Linked DNA regions of Homo sapiens: region 1 is linked to region 2. Evidence: promoter capture Hi-C in 16 types of primary human blood cells and fetal thymus (Javierre and others, 2016). All regions are on one chromosome and are shown on one strand. The core of a region is centred on a gene start or on the middle of the fragment in contact, and the rest is flanking DNA. Distances in the headings are between cores, read along the strand shown.

Region 1 (5,734 bases), core at 190-2,689, 530 kb after region 2:
GAGTAGCTGGGATTACAGGCATGTGCCACCATGCCCTGCTAATTTTTTTTGTATTTTTAGTAGAGACGAGGTTTCTCCATGTTGGTCAGACTGGCCTCAAACTCCCAACATCAGGTGATCCACCCATCTCTGCCTCCCAAAGTGCTGGGATTATAGGCGTAAGCCACTGGCCCGGCCATGAAGTGTTTTAATAGAGCACTTTATCTTTTCAAGACAATGGCAACTCAGTACCTATCCATAATAGTTGTAATGTTAGAAAGCTTTAAATGGTACCCGCTGTTTTCCCACAAGCATTGATAACATGTTTGAAACTCTGGTTCATGAATTAGTTTGGTTTTCAGTTACAGCTTTCTTCCTGGCTACCATAATGGGTGTGAGATTTAAGAGGTCCAAGAAAATAATGCCTGCTGGTTTGGTTGCAGGTTTAAGGTAAGTAAAACTATTTTGATCAATACTTTCCTCTGCTGTTGTTTTGAAGTGCTGAATTTTTGGGAAACATCAATTTTAATTTGAAAGATCAAAGTCCTTTTTGTTATAATAAGCATGACAGTAAAAACCTTAAGATAGCATGGATTCAGTGGGTCTTTGATATTGATGTACCCATGAACATTCTTATTGGATACGCATAGTGTTGCTGTAGTATCTGGTCACATAGGCATACTTGCCTTTTTCAGAAGAAAGAGCTAACTAAACTCAGCCTCATTTTTCCTCAAGATTCACCCATCTGCAACACTAAATGTGTTCATTTAAATCTAATACTCAGTCCCTTTTAGAGAGTTTGACAGAGTGACAGTGTGATACAGTTATTTCAAGTTTTTAAGGGACAGAAATTTAATATTTTTAAGAGTTTTTAAGAGAGAAGTTTTAATATTTTTTAAAAGATAAACAGAGGGCCTCAAGTTTCTCTTAATTTGATCCAGTAATTCTATCCATGAGATTAAGCATATTACCAAATAAAAATTTAGAGATAACATTTTAAAAATTTCTCCAGAAAGCTGGCTTTATATGTTGAAAGCCATAAACATGTTTATTTCCTTTGATAGACATTTTCACTTTTTGGAATTTATTCCAAAGCAGTGAGATATGCACAAAGACTGATGTTCATTGCAACTTTATTTCTAGTGAAAACACAATAGACTGAAAAATTAGGAACAACCTAACAGTTCACCAGTAAGGAGATGTTTGAAAAAATGTTTTGTCCATTTAATGGAATATTGAATGAGCATTACATTTTTATGTTTTCAAAAATGATTTGGTGGCATTGGAAAATCTTAGTGACATAATAAGGTATAAAAACAGGATGAAAACAACCACATATAGTGTGATTAAAAAAAGTTTGTGTATAAAAAAACAGGAAGGAAATATTTCAAGCTGTTAGTGTTTTTCTGTGGGTGATAGTGTGATGAATAATTGTAATGTTCCTCTTTCTACTTTTGTGTAGAATTTTCTAGTGTGACTATGTATTATGTTTCAGGGAGGGGAGGAGGAGTGTGATTACAAAAGACAGCTTTCCAGTTATAGCCCTGTTCTAAAAGTGATACTTGGTGGTGGGAAGAATCAGAAGTAGGGTTTATGGGCTGGGTGCGGTGGCTCATGCCTGTAATCCCAGCACTTTGGAAGGCTTTGGCGGGTGGATCACTTGAGGTCAGGAGTTCAAGACCAGCCTAGCCAACATGGCAAAACCCCATCTCTACAAAAATTAGCCAAGTGTGGTGGCGGGCACCTGTAATCCCAGCTACTTGGGAGGCTGAGGCAGGAGAATTGCTTGAGCTCAGGAGGTGGAGGTTGCAGTGAGCCGAGACTGCGTCACTATACTCCAGCCTGGGTGACAGAGTGAGACTCCATCAGAAAAAAGAAAAAAAAAAGGAAGAAAAAATGAAGTAGGGTTTATGGATCCGGAAGAAGGCCTCAGTTAATAGAAAGTAGCTGAGATTGAATTAGTAACTGCCCCAAGTTGGTCCTCGATTATTTTTTCAAGTTGCTTTATTTTACTAGCTTCTGAAAGTTTGTTTCTTCCCAAACCTTTCTCTTATAAACCCTCATCCAAGGTTTTCAGAACAACAGGTTCTGATTTTTCCTTATTCATTTAGCGAACATTTTAAAGTGGCTAATTCAGTTATGTCTGGGATGTTTTAATCCTCCAAGGGGTTGAGCTGGGAGAGCCCCCAAGCCAAGGATTAGTAACACTACTGGGTAGGCGAGTGCATGGCCCTTTCTGTCTTATGCCAGATAAAAGTGACTCTCCCTTTGTCTTTGTTTTATTTTAAATCCAGCCTCATGATGATCCTGAGACTTGTCTTGTTGCTGCTCTGAGCATCTGGAGGAACAGAAAACTAAGTTCATGTCATCCTGCTGTAATGGGCAGAGCATATTTTTTTTGTATTTAAAAGATAAACTTCAATATGGAATGCTAGAAACACAAATAGCACTGTCACCTCTAATATGAACATTAGTTTGAGGTAGTTTTTTTCTAAAGCAAAAATTTTAACTGTTTTCTAATTGTCAAGCACTATTTTCATTAAAAGTGTCTAATGAATCATGATATACTCTTCCATTTGTTGTGTCTATTTTTTATATATTTGGTATTTTTTGAAAATTCCAAATACTCATGTCTCAAGTAAGCTTAAACTACAACTTGTCACATAAAGGAAGTCTTAAGTGGAGTTCACAGAATGATAATGTATCTATTTGTCATTTGTGTTATATTTGAAATTATTAGAAATTATGCTTTTTCCATTTTAATTGTATTGCTGCCAGTGCTATTTTTTTCTTTAAAAAATTTTATTCTTAGCACACTGTTATGTCCTAACTGAATGTATTCAGTATTCAAATAAAAGACATTTTGGTTCAAACCTGTTTCTTTCATGTCAGTTTTTCCTCTGAATACTCAAATCATCTTTGACATTTAAATATTCAATTATTAACGAAAAGGGTTGAGAAGGAGGGTTTATTTAAGCCAACATTCTACTTCCTGAGGCGTAGATATTTTTTCTCTCTGAAAGAGTAACGATTCTGAAACAAACTGATTTTGTTTCAAATTACCACTTTATTTTTAGGCATAGTTATAACTTTTAATGTCCAAGGCACTTTTAGGGCCCAAATTGAACATCGGGAGACCTGAATCCCAGCCCAATTCTTCCACCCACTTGATGCTCTTTGGAAGGTCATTTCCTTTTCCTCTGACTCAGTTTCTCATTCTTAAGGAGGAATTGAACTAAATGATCAACCCTTTAGAGCTCTAAAAATCTACAGTTCCTATCCTGTTGGTTATGTGCAGTGGTGTCATACTTCAAACCCTTTCTTTAAGTGAAAGCGTAGGGTCCTCAACTGATAACGGCAGAGTTCATATGGTTCTGTTAGATTGGTTACCTTTCCCAACTGACTTTCAAGGAGGTTGTTAAACTTTCAGTGATAAGTAATTCAATTAAGGGAAGAAAAAAGCTGTACCAGTTGAACCGAATAGGAAATCTAGATAAAATTATTTGATGTACTTAAAAAAATCCCAATTTAAAGAAGAAGAAAGAAAATCCCATAAATCCTAATGGTGGCAAAGAGGTTGTTACCACAGGCAAGGCTGGAAAAAGCCGTCATCATTGAGGTGCTCTGCTCACTTGCTAGCTGTCAGAGATGACTGAGGAGAACCTTCAGATTCAGACTGACAGCAGCTTATAGTCAAAACTGATTACGATACTGAAGTAGAAACTAACTGTGAAATTGATCCTAGAAATACATGCTGTGTCTGCAGAATACTCTAGTGATTCAAAGTTTAAGAAACTGGTTTGAAGCTATGCTGTTCCCTGGACTTTTCCCAAAAGGTCATAGAAGTGAATGATAGTGATGTGTGTGCTTTTTTTGTTTTGTTTTTAAAGAAATCTTTGGCATCCATTTGCATATTTGTGATTTTACTCTTTTGCAATACGTAGAATCCAGAAGGATTCATATTTGGATGGCTCTGATTAATTGGTGTTTTCTTGTTTTATGAAAAGTAGAAGAGGCTCTGTAACTTACAGGTATTAGGCAGTTTATTTCCTCATGTCTTATTACTTTATTACATTAATGTGGCTTTATGATATTTTTATGGGTCTGCTACCAATGCATAGTGAAATATTTACTACGTTTCTTAGACTTTGTTTCATTTGTTAATACTCAGCTACTGTAGTGCTCATGTTTTTAAGAAACAGGCCATGTTCAAATTTAAATATATTCTTCACAGTCTCAATGGATTCTTCATCCAGTGGAGGCTTCCTTTGGCTTCCAGGTTGGAGAAATTTATTAATTGTGGGGATGTGGCTGATTCTGGCCTTGAATTTCTAAAATGCAAAAGAATACTATCCAAGAGAGAAGAATATAACAAAACAAAGTAAAATGCAAATGAGCCACATTCTGGTGGAGGTGGGGGATAATTGGGATTTTCATACATTGTGGACATTGCAAAGTGATACTGCCACTTTGCAAGTTAGCAATATTTCTCAAGAACCACAAAAACGTTCATAGGCTGTTACGAAGTGATTCCATTTTAAAAATTGTGTCCTAATGATGTAATCTTAAATGTGGAAAAATCTATACCTACAAAGATATTGTTGCAACACTATTTATAAAAACAAACATTCTAAAGCATCCTGGTATACAATAAAGAGAAGTCCTCATTTTTCTTATACCAGAAGCATTTTTCATGTTATGTAATCTTTGAAAACTTTAAGTGGCTGCATAGAATTCTATCCAATGAACATATCCTCATTTATATAGATGTTTCTCAGTTTAATATTAGACATTTAAGTTGTTTATGATTTTCACTATTTAAAATCAGGTTAGGCTGTGGCATGGGTGAAAGTGGCCACTTTGGCGGTGCCTCGTCCTCACAGCTAATGGGAAGCAAGCGTGTTCTAGAAAGCCAGAGTCTCCAGCGACCCCTCTTACCACCATCATGGCAGTCCCAGGTTGCAACAAGGACAGTGTCAGAGCAGGCTGTAAAAAATATGGCTTCCTGGTCACCTGACTTTTGAATGCTGCAACTTTCTCCAAGTAGACCCCAAAGGGACATAGTTTTGGATGTCAGCAGTGCAAACAGTGAAGATTGATGAATAAAATGAAGAATGAATAAATTGCAAGCATTACTGGAAAAAAAGAATAAATGAAGAGGAGAAGAAAAAGCAAAGAGAAAAGCAATTTTTTTAAAAAAGGAAAAGGTCTTATTCATCCAGTTCCACTGAAAAGGACATTTCAAAAGAAACAAAAATATCAGAACAAAGAAAAGAAAAAAAAAGCTGGGTGTGGTGGCTCACACCTGTAATTCCAGCACTTTGGGAGGCTGAGGTGGGTGGATCACGAGGTCAGGAGTTTGAGACCAGCCTGGCCGACATAGTGAAACCCTGTCTCTATTAAAAATACAGGAAAAAAAAAAAACTAGCCGGGCATAGTGGCAGGTGCCTGTAATCCAAGCTACTTGGGAGGCTGAGGCAGGAGAATCACTTGAACCTGGGAGGTGGAGGTTGCAGTGAGCCGAGACCACACCACTGCACTCCAGCCTGGGCAATAGAGCAAGACTCCATCTCAAAGAAAAAAAAAAAAAGAAAAAGTAAATCAAAAAAAGGAAGCCAGGTGCAGTGGCTCACACCTGTAATCCCAGCACTTTGGAAGGCAGAGGCAGGCGATCACCTGAGGTCGGGAGTTCAAGACCAGCCTGGCCAACATAGTGAAACCCGTCTCTACTAAAAATACAAAAATTAGCCAGGCA
Region 2 (5,973 bases), core at 1,420-3,919:
GAGATAGCGCCACTGCACTCCAGCCTGGGTGACAGAGTGAGACTCCATCTCAAAAAAGTAACAACAAAAAAAAGTAGATCGTTGTTCATGGGTATTGGTTTTACCATTATGTACCATCACTTATATATTATAAATATTCTTTTATAAATATATCATACTTGAATTAAAAACATAATTTAAAGAAATTAAAATGTTAAGCATTCAAAGAATATATGCCAAAATGTTACATTTCTTTCGGAAAATGGGAAGAGGAAGCATTATGGCATACTGTCATTTTTCATATTCTATAATTCTATAGCATATTTGATCTTCATGATGTTTCTATTTGAAAAAAGATTAAAGATTAAAGAAAAAATAAATTGAAGTCATGCAACATGAAATACAAATTATGTATGATTTGTATGTACAAATTGTATGAGATGTATGTACAAATCATGTAAGAGGACATTCTGGACAAGGCAAGCTCCTGGCATTTGACAGATGCTAATGCTGCTTCTTTTTGCATTACAGGCTTAGACAAATGATGCTTGAGACACACCAAGATACCTGCACACTAGAGGCTGCAGTCACCTCAGAAGAAAGATGCCCCCTGCTCTGGCTGGTCAAACGGAACCAAGTCCGTCTTCCTGAGAGGTTTGGTCCCCTTCAACCAGCTACAGCAGGGCTGGCAATGCCCAGTCCTTGGAGAAACAGAAGAGATTCAACTGCAACTGAAATTACCTACTAAAACTTTCCTTGAGAAAACAATTCTGGTTTTTTCACCATATTCTTATGCTCCCAGGAAGGAAGAGAAGAGGAGTCCTGGAGTCAAAAGTGAGCAAGATTTTAATGCTCAACACACACTGTTCTGTGCCTTTGCACTCACAGCTGCAGCCACTTACATGCTTTTGACAGACACACAGTCAAGAAAGAGTTTGAGGATGGAGTTTGTGCCAACCCTAAGCCAGCCAGGGGAAGAGCATGAGACATAGAAGACAGGGCTCCTGCTCACTAGGGGCTAACAGTCTAAGGAAAGAAATTAGACATGTATATATGGTGTGATCCAATTGAATTGCAAGTTATAGCATGGCTAGTTCCAAGGCATAATTCTTACCTATCCCACCAAATATGCCTAGCACATTATGTATCATCAAGTCTCTATTGATCTATTCAGCCCAAGATATCTATTCACTAAGCAATCATTTCTCAGTTCCCTGATCTGTAGAATAGGGATAATAGTACCTGTCACACCAGGCACAGTGGCTTATGCCTAAAATCTCAGCATTTGGGGTGGCTAAGACAGGGGATTGCTTGAGGCCAGGAGTTCCAGATCAGCCTGGTCAACATAGCAAGATGCTGTTTCTACCAAAAAAAAATTTTTTTTGTTTTAATTAGCTGAATGCGGTAGTGCACACCTATAGTCCTAGCTACTTGGGAGGCTGAGGCAGGAAGATCACTTAAGTCCAGGAGATGGAGGCTGTAATGAGCTAAGTTCTCATAATCGCTACCTTTTACTAAGGGAGAATTCTGACCTGTCCTTCCAGTTTATCTTTTAAGATTTGTATCTTTTATGGTGTGTGTCTGGAACTTAGACAGTAATAAGTAAATATTTGGGTTTAAAATTCTATAGACATGTGTGTTCACATGCTGTATTCTGACACAAATGGGGTAGCATAAGTGCCTAGAGCCCACCACAGTGACCTCAGAGGAGAACACAGAGCTTACTAGCACAAATCTTTGCATTCAGGAAGACCTGGGGTTGAATGCTGCCCCTCTAATTTATTAGCTGTGATATATCCTCTCCGCAGCTCAATTAACATTGCACAAGCCTTAGTTTACTCATCTGTAAAATGGGGACAATGATACCAACCTCAGTTACCGTAAGGCTTAAAACAGACAGTGTTAATAAAGAGCCAAATATAAGCCCTTAAGAAATAGTAGCTGTTGTTTTACTGCTGTAAATGGCAACAGCACAAGGACAATGCTGTGTCCACAGGCACTTGTATGTAGAAGGAAAGAGCCAAATTAAAAAAAAAATAGGAGAAGAACTCAAAAAATACATAAAGGCTCATTGCTCACTGTAGGGTTTTGTTTTTTGTTGTTGTTGTTTTGTTTTTGTTTTTGTTTATTTTTTGAGACAGGGTCTCACTCTGTTGCCCAGATAGGAGTGCAGTGGCACGATTTCAGCTCACTGCAACCTCCGCCTCCCAGGCTCAAGCGATTCTCCTGCCTCAGCCTCCCAAGCAGCTGAGATTACAGGCACGCACCACTACCACCCGACTAAGTTTTATATTTTTAGTAGAGACAGGGTTTCACCATGTTGGCCAGGCTGGTCTTGAACTCCTGACCTCAAGTGATCCGCCCGCCTTGGCCTCCCAAAGTGCTGGGATTACAAATGTGAGCCACCGTGCCCAGCCTATAGGGTATTTTTATATTCCAACTATTAATTCTACTAGCATGTAGCATACATGCATTCACCCTAGTACATATGACTAGCATATAATATGCTTTACTTTTAAAAAATGCTTTATACATGAGACTGATCTTACCATCTTCAATATCCTGTCTGGAAAGCCTTCATTTGTGAGTGCTGTTGAGATCACATGTCCTCCCAAGTAGGACATGGAGTGTGAAGGCCATTGAGTGGGTGTTCCAAAGGGCAGCACAGAATGGAGTTTAGTTGAAGGTGCTGGGGACACACTACCTGGGCTCAAGTCCCAGCTCCCCACTCTCCAGCTGTGCCACTTGAGCAAGTTGCTTGACCTCTCCAGGCCTGGGTTTCCTCATCTGTAAAGTAGGAATATTGATAATAATATCTACTTCATAGAGTTTCATGAGAATACATGTAAAGGCCTGAAACCAGTATTGGGTACATAATAATACATTCTTAAGAGTCTTTATTTCTGACAATGTACCTGAAATGTTCCTGAAATTAAGTTGGTGTTCAATAAAAACATGTTCACTGAAAGATCAGCTTCTTTGTTTATTTTAAGCACAAACTATGGGATCATGTAATTTTTGGTTCAACTATTTCTACTTATCTCTTTCAATGCAGCACACTGGTTCAAAGCAGTAGTAAGGTGTGGGGGAAGGATGGCAACAAGCTTCTCTCTGCTTCCCAGGTCTGTGATGAAATGGAACTTCCCTGCGAACTAGGGGTATGCCTCTGGGAGTAGAAGCAGGGTGATCTTGAAGCGCAGTCGCAGAGCTGTCACCCGGAAGTCACCTGGCAGAACAGAAAACAAACATGATGTGGCCAAATACCAGCTGTCCTTAACAGGAGGGATCTTTTCCATCTGGAAGGGCAGAGGTCATGTAGGTAAAGATTAGATAACAATGCCAGGTATAGGTAAAAGGAGTGTTAAAAAAGGGTCACTTTCATATTTGGGATATTATGGCTAAAATGCCTGATAAAACTGGACAAGACATATAAGGCTAAGACTAAATAATGTCTTCTCTCTGTTAGAAAGAAGCCAGCCAGGCCAGGCATGAGGGTTCTTGTCTATAAATCCCAGCACTTTGGGAGGCCAACGCTGGCGGATCTCTTGAGCTCAGGAGTTCAAGACCAGCCTGAGCAAAACTCCATCTCTACAAAAAATACCAAAAATTAGCTGGGCACAGGGATGGGGACGCTGAGGTGGGAGGATCGCTTGAGCCCAGGAGTTTGATTGAGGCTGCAGTGAGCTGCGATGGCACCACTGCACTCCAGCCTGGGTGACAGAGTGAGACCCTGTCTCAAAAACAAAAGAAAAAAAAAGAAGGAAAGAAGAGGGAGGGAGGTAGAGAGGGAGGGAAGGAGTGAGAGAGGGAGGGAAGGAAGGAAGGAAGTTAAGAAGGGAGAGAGGGAGGGAGGGAGAGAAAGAAGGTAAAGGAAAGGAAGGAAGGAGAGAGAAAGGAATAAAGAAAAAGAAAAGGAGAGGAGGGGAGGAGAGGGAAGGGGAGCAAGCTAGCACACTTCTGGCAAGGGTTGGAGAACATGAGTGAACATTGTCATCCAACTTTCTACCTATCCCCTTGCCCTCAAGGGTCTTTGCAGAACACATCTTTGAGGGCCACAGGATGGAAGGAGTTCTAGTCATAGCCTGCCTCCAAAGTCAAAATATCGTACTGTCCCCTCTTATTCACTCCTGGAGAATTCAACTTCCATTCACATTTCTGTTTGATTTTCCTTAAACCAGGAGGGGAGCAAATGTATTCCTGCTCCCACTCACCACTATAAAAAGACAGAACCTTTAAGAAAACATGTTTTCTGGTAAGTTTGAATGACCTTGATATCCATGTTCAAAGGTCCCACAAGCCCAAACTCTCCATTTCCGTAAGAAATCAAGAGGAATCAGAGAATGGGGACTGCTGCCCACGGGTTGCGGTTGCTCATCCTGCCACAGCCCCTCTTCAGGGCAGAAATCTAGGTTAGGCCACCCAGTGGGGTGTGTGGTTTTGTGATTGCTGCTGTGTCCCTTTATGTGTGTTCCTGTATCATCATCAGTCCTGTGCCAGTAAGTGGCAGCCCATGATGTCACACCGGTCAAACATGACGACTCTTGGTCACCCTCAGAATGGACCCCACCCCCACATCTGGTGAGTGTTGGGAGGAAGAAAGTGATAGCACAGGCGTGCTGAAGGAGCTCTTCCCCGGAAGGAGTTGACGGAAAATAGTGCGGGGCTATCTAACTGGCAGGAATCCAGACAAACAAGAAAATCCCATTAGTGCAGTCCATCAACGAGTTTCTTTCTGATGGTAATTCCCAGGGCTGGCAAGACTGTTAGAAAACAGCAGCTCATACATAGCTGGGAGTGAATATAGGTCTATACTCTTCAAAGCATCATTTATCAATACATAGGCATCAAGAAGGCTATTATCTTCTCTGCCCAGAATCTTCTCTTTCTCTGTTAACAGCTCAGTCTCCCTCCCTTGGCTATTCTTTTTTTTTTTTTTTTTTTTTTGAGATGGAGTCTTGCTCCATTGCCAGGCTGGAGCGCAGTGGTGCAATCTCAGTTCACTGCAACCTCTGCCTCCTGGGTTCAAGTGATTCTCCTGCCTCAGCCTCCCAAGTAGCTGGGACTACAAGCACCCACCACCACGCCTGGCTAATTTTTGTATTTTTAGTAGAGACGGGGTTTCACTATGTTGGCCAGGATTGTCTCAATCTCTTGACCTCATGATCCACCCGTCTTGCCCTCCCAAAGTCCTGGGATTACAGGCGTGAGCCACTGCACCCAGCCCCCTTGGCTATTCTTAAAATTACCTCTCCCTCCCTCCATTCACCATGCTTCCCCAAGAACCTTTACAACCATGCACCTTTCTCTAACTTAAGCCATCCTAGTGAGCCCTTTCATGGGAGTTTGGATTATTGGTCTATAAAAATTAAAGCTGTGTTTCCTTGGAAAGTTAAAATAGAAAGATGTGAAGCTTCAAAATTATTCCCAGTATTTCTCAGTAGTGCTTAGTAAGAGATAAGAATGAACCAATTACTTAAAAAGAAACCAAAGAGAGAACAGATACAGAGCCCCAGAGGTATTTCAGTCCTGGACGTGGTTGTTCCCAAGGCCCAGTTCCTATATTCTGTATTCCTTTTTACCTAAGGCACTTAACACTGAAATTACATCATTTGCAAACAAAAGTGCCCTAACTCATATAGCATCAAATATATACCCTTTGACACTCTGGAGACATATTGTTAACTCACAAAGGGAAACTAACACAATCCATTTCTGTTTTTAAGAAAAATACATGTATGTATATGTTAAGAAAAATATGGAAGAATCTAGACCAAAGGTCCAAGAGTAAATATTTCTAGACAATGGATTTTTGGAGGACGGCCTCTCTGAATTTTCTAAATTTTTCCCAGCTAGCATGTATTACTTGTAACAAAAAGTAAGCCACAGAGATTTTTTATTTTTATGTCTTTTTATTTTTCCCAAAGCTATACATGTACAAGGTTTAAATTTTTAAAGCTTATAATGTAAAATAGTAATCCCCTGCCCCACTCCCAA

Evidence for each region. The method cuts DNA at HindIII sites, captures the fragments that hold promoters and counts their contacts. A CHiCAGO score of 5 or more calls a contact.
Region 1: a fragment that was not itself captured here is called in contact with the fragment with the promoter of LINCMD1 in region 2 in 6 of 17 cell types (naive CD8 T cells, total CD4 T cells, total CD8 T cells and 3 more); the score reaches 6.6 in naive CD8 T cells.

Annotation. Positions count from the first base shown.
Region 1 is chr6:52,683,737-52,689,470 of GRCh38, forward strand. It overlaps TMEM14A (transmembrane protein 14A), which reads left to right. Exons shown (of 5, transcript NM_014051.4): 4 at 342-429; 5 at 2,274-2,852. The coding sequence ends at 2,313. It also overlaps the pseudogene GSTA8P and the pseudogene SREK1IP1P2. Among named protein-coding and RNA genes, the nearest start is that of TMEM14A, 15 kb to the left of the region's middle. The HindIII fragment of the contact is 2,362 bases long and covers 259-2,620 here.
Region 2 is chr6:52,148,354-52,154,326 of GRCh38, forward strand. LINCMD1 (long intergenic non-protein coding RNA, muscle differentiation 1) reads right to left here and starts at 2,670. Exons shown (of 3, transcript NR_131248.1): 1 at 2,529-2,670. MIR133B (microRNA 133b) reads left to right here and starts at 570; the gene lies at 570-688. RefSeq lists an enhancer at 4,498-4,792. The HindIII fragment of the contact is 4,773 bases long and covers 1-3,081 here.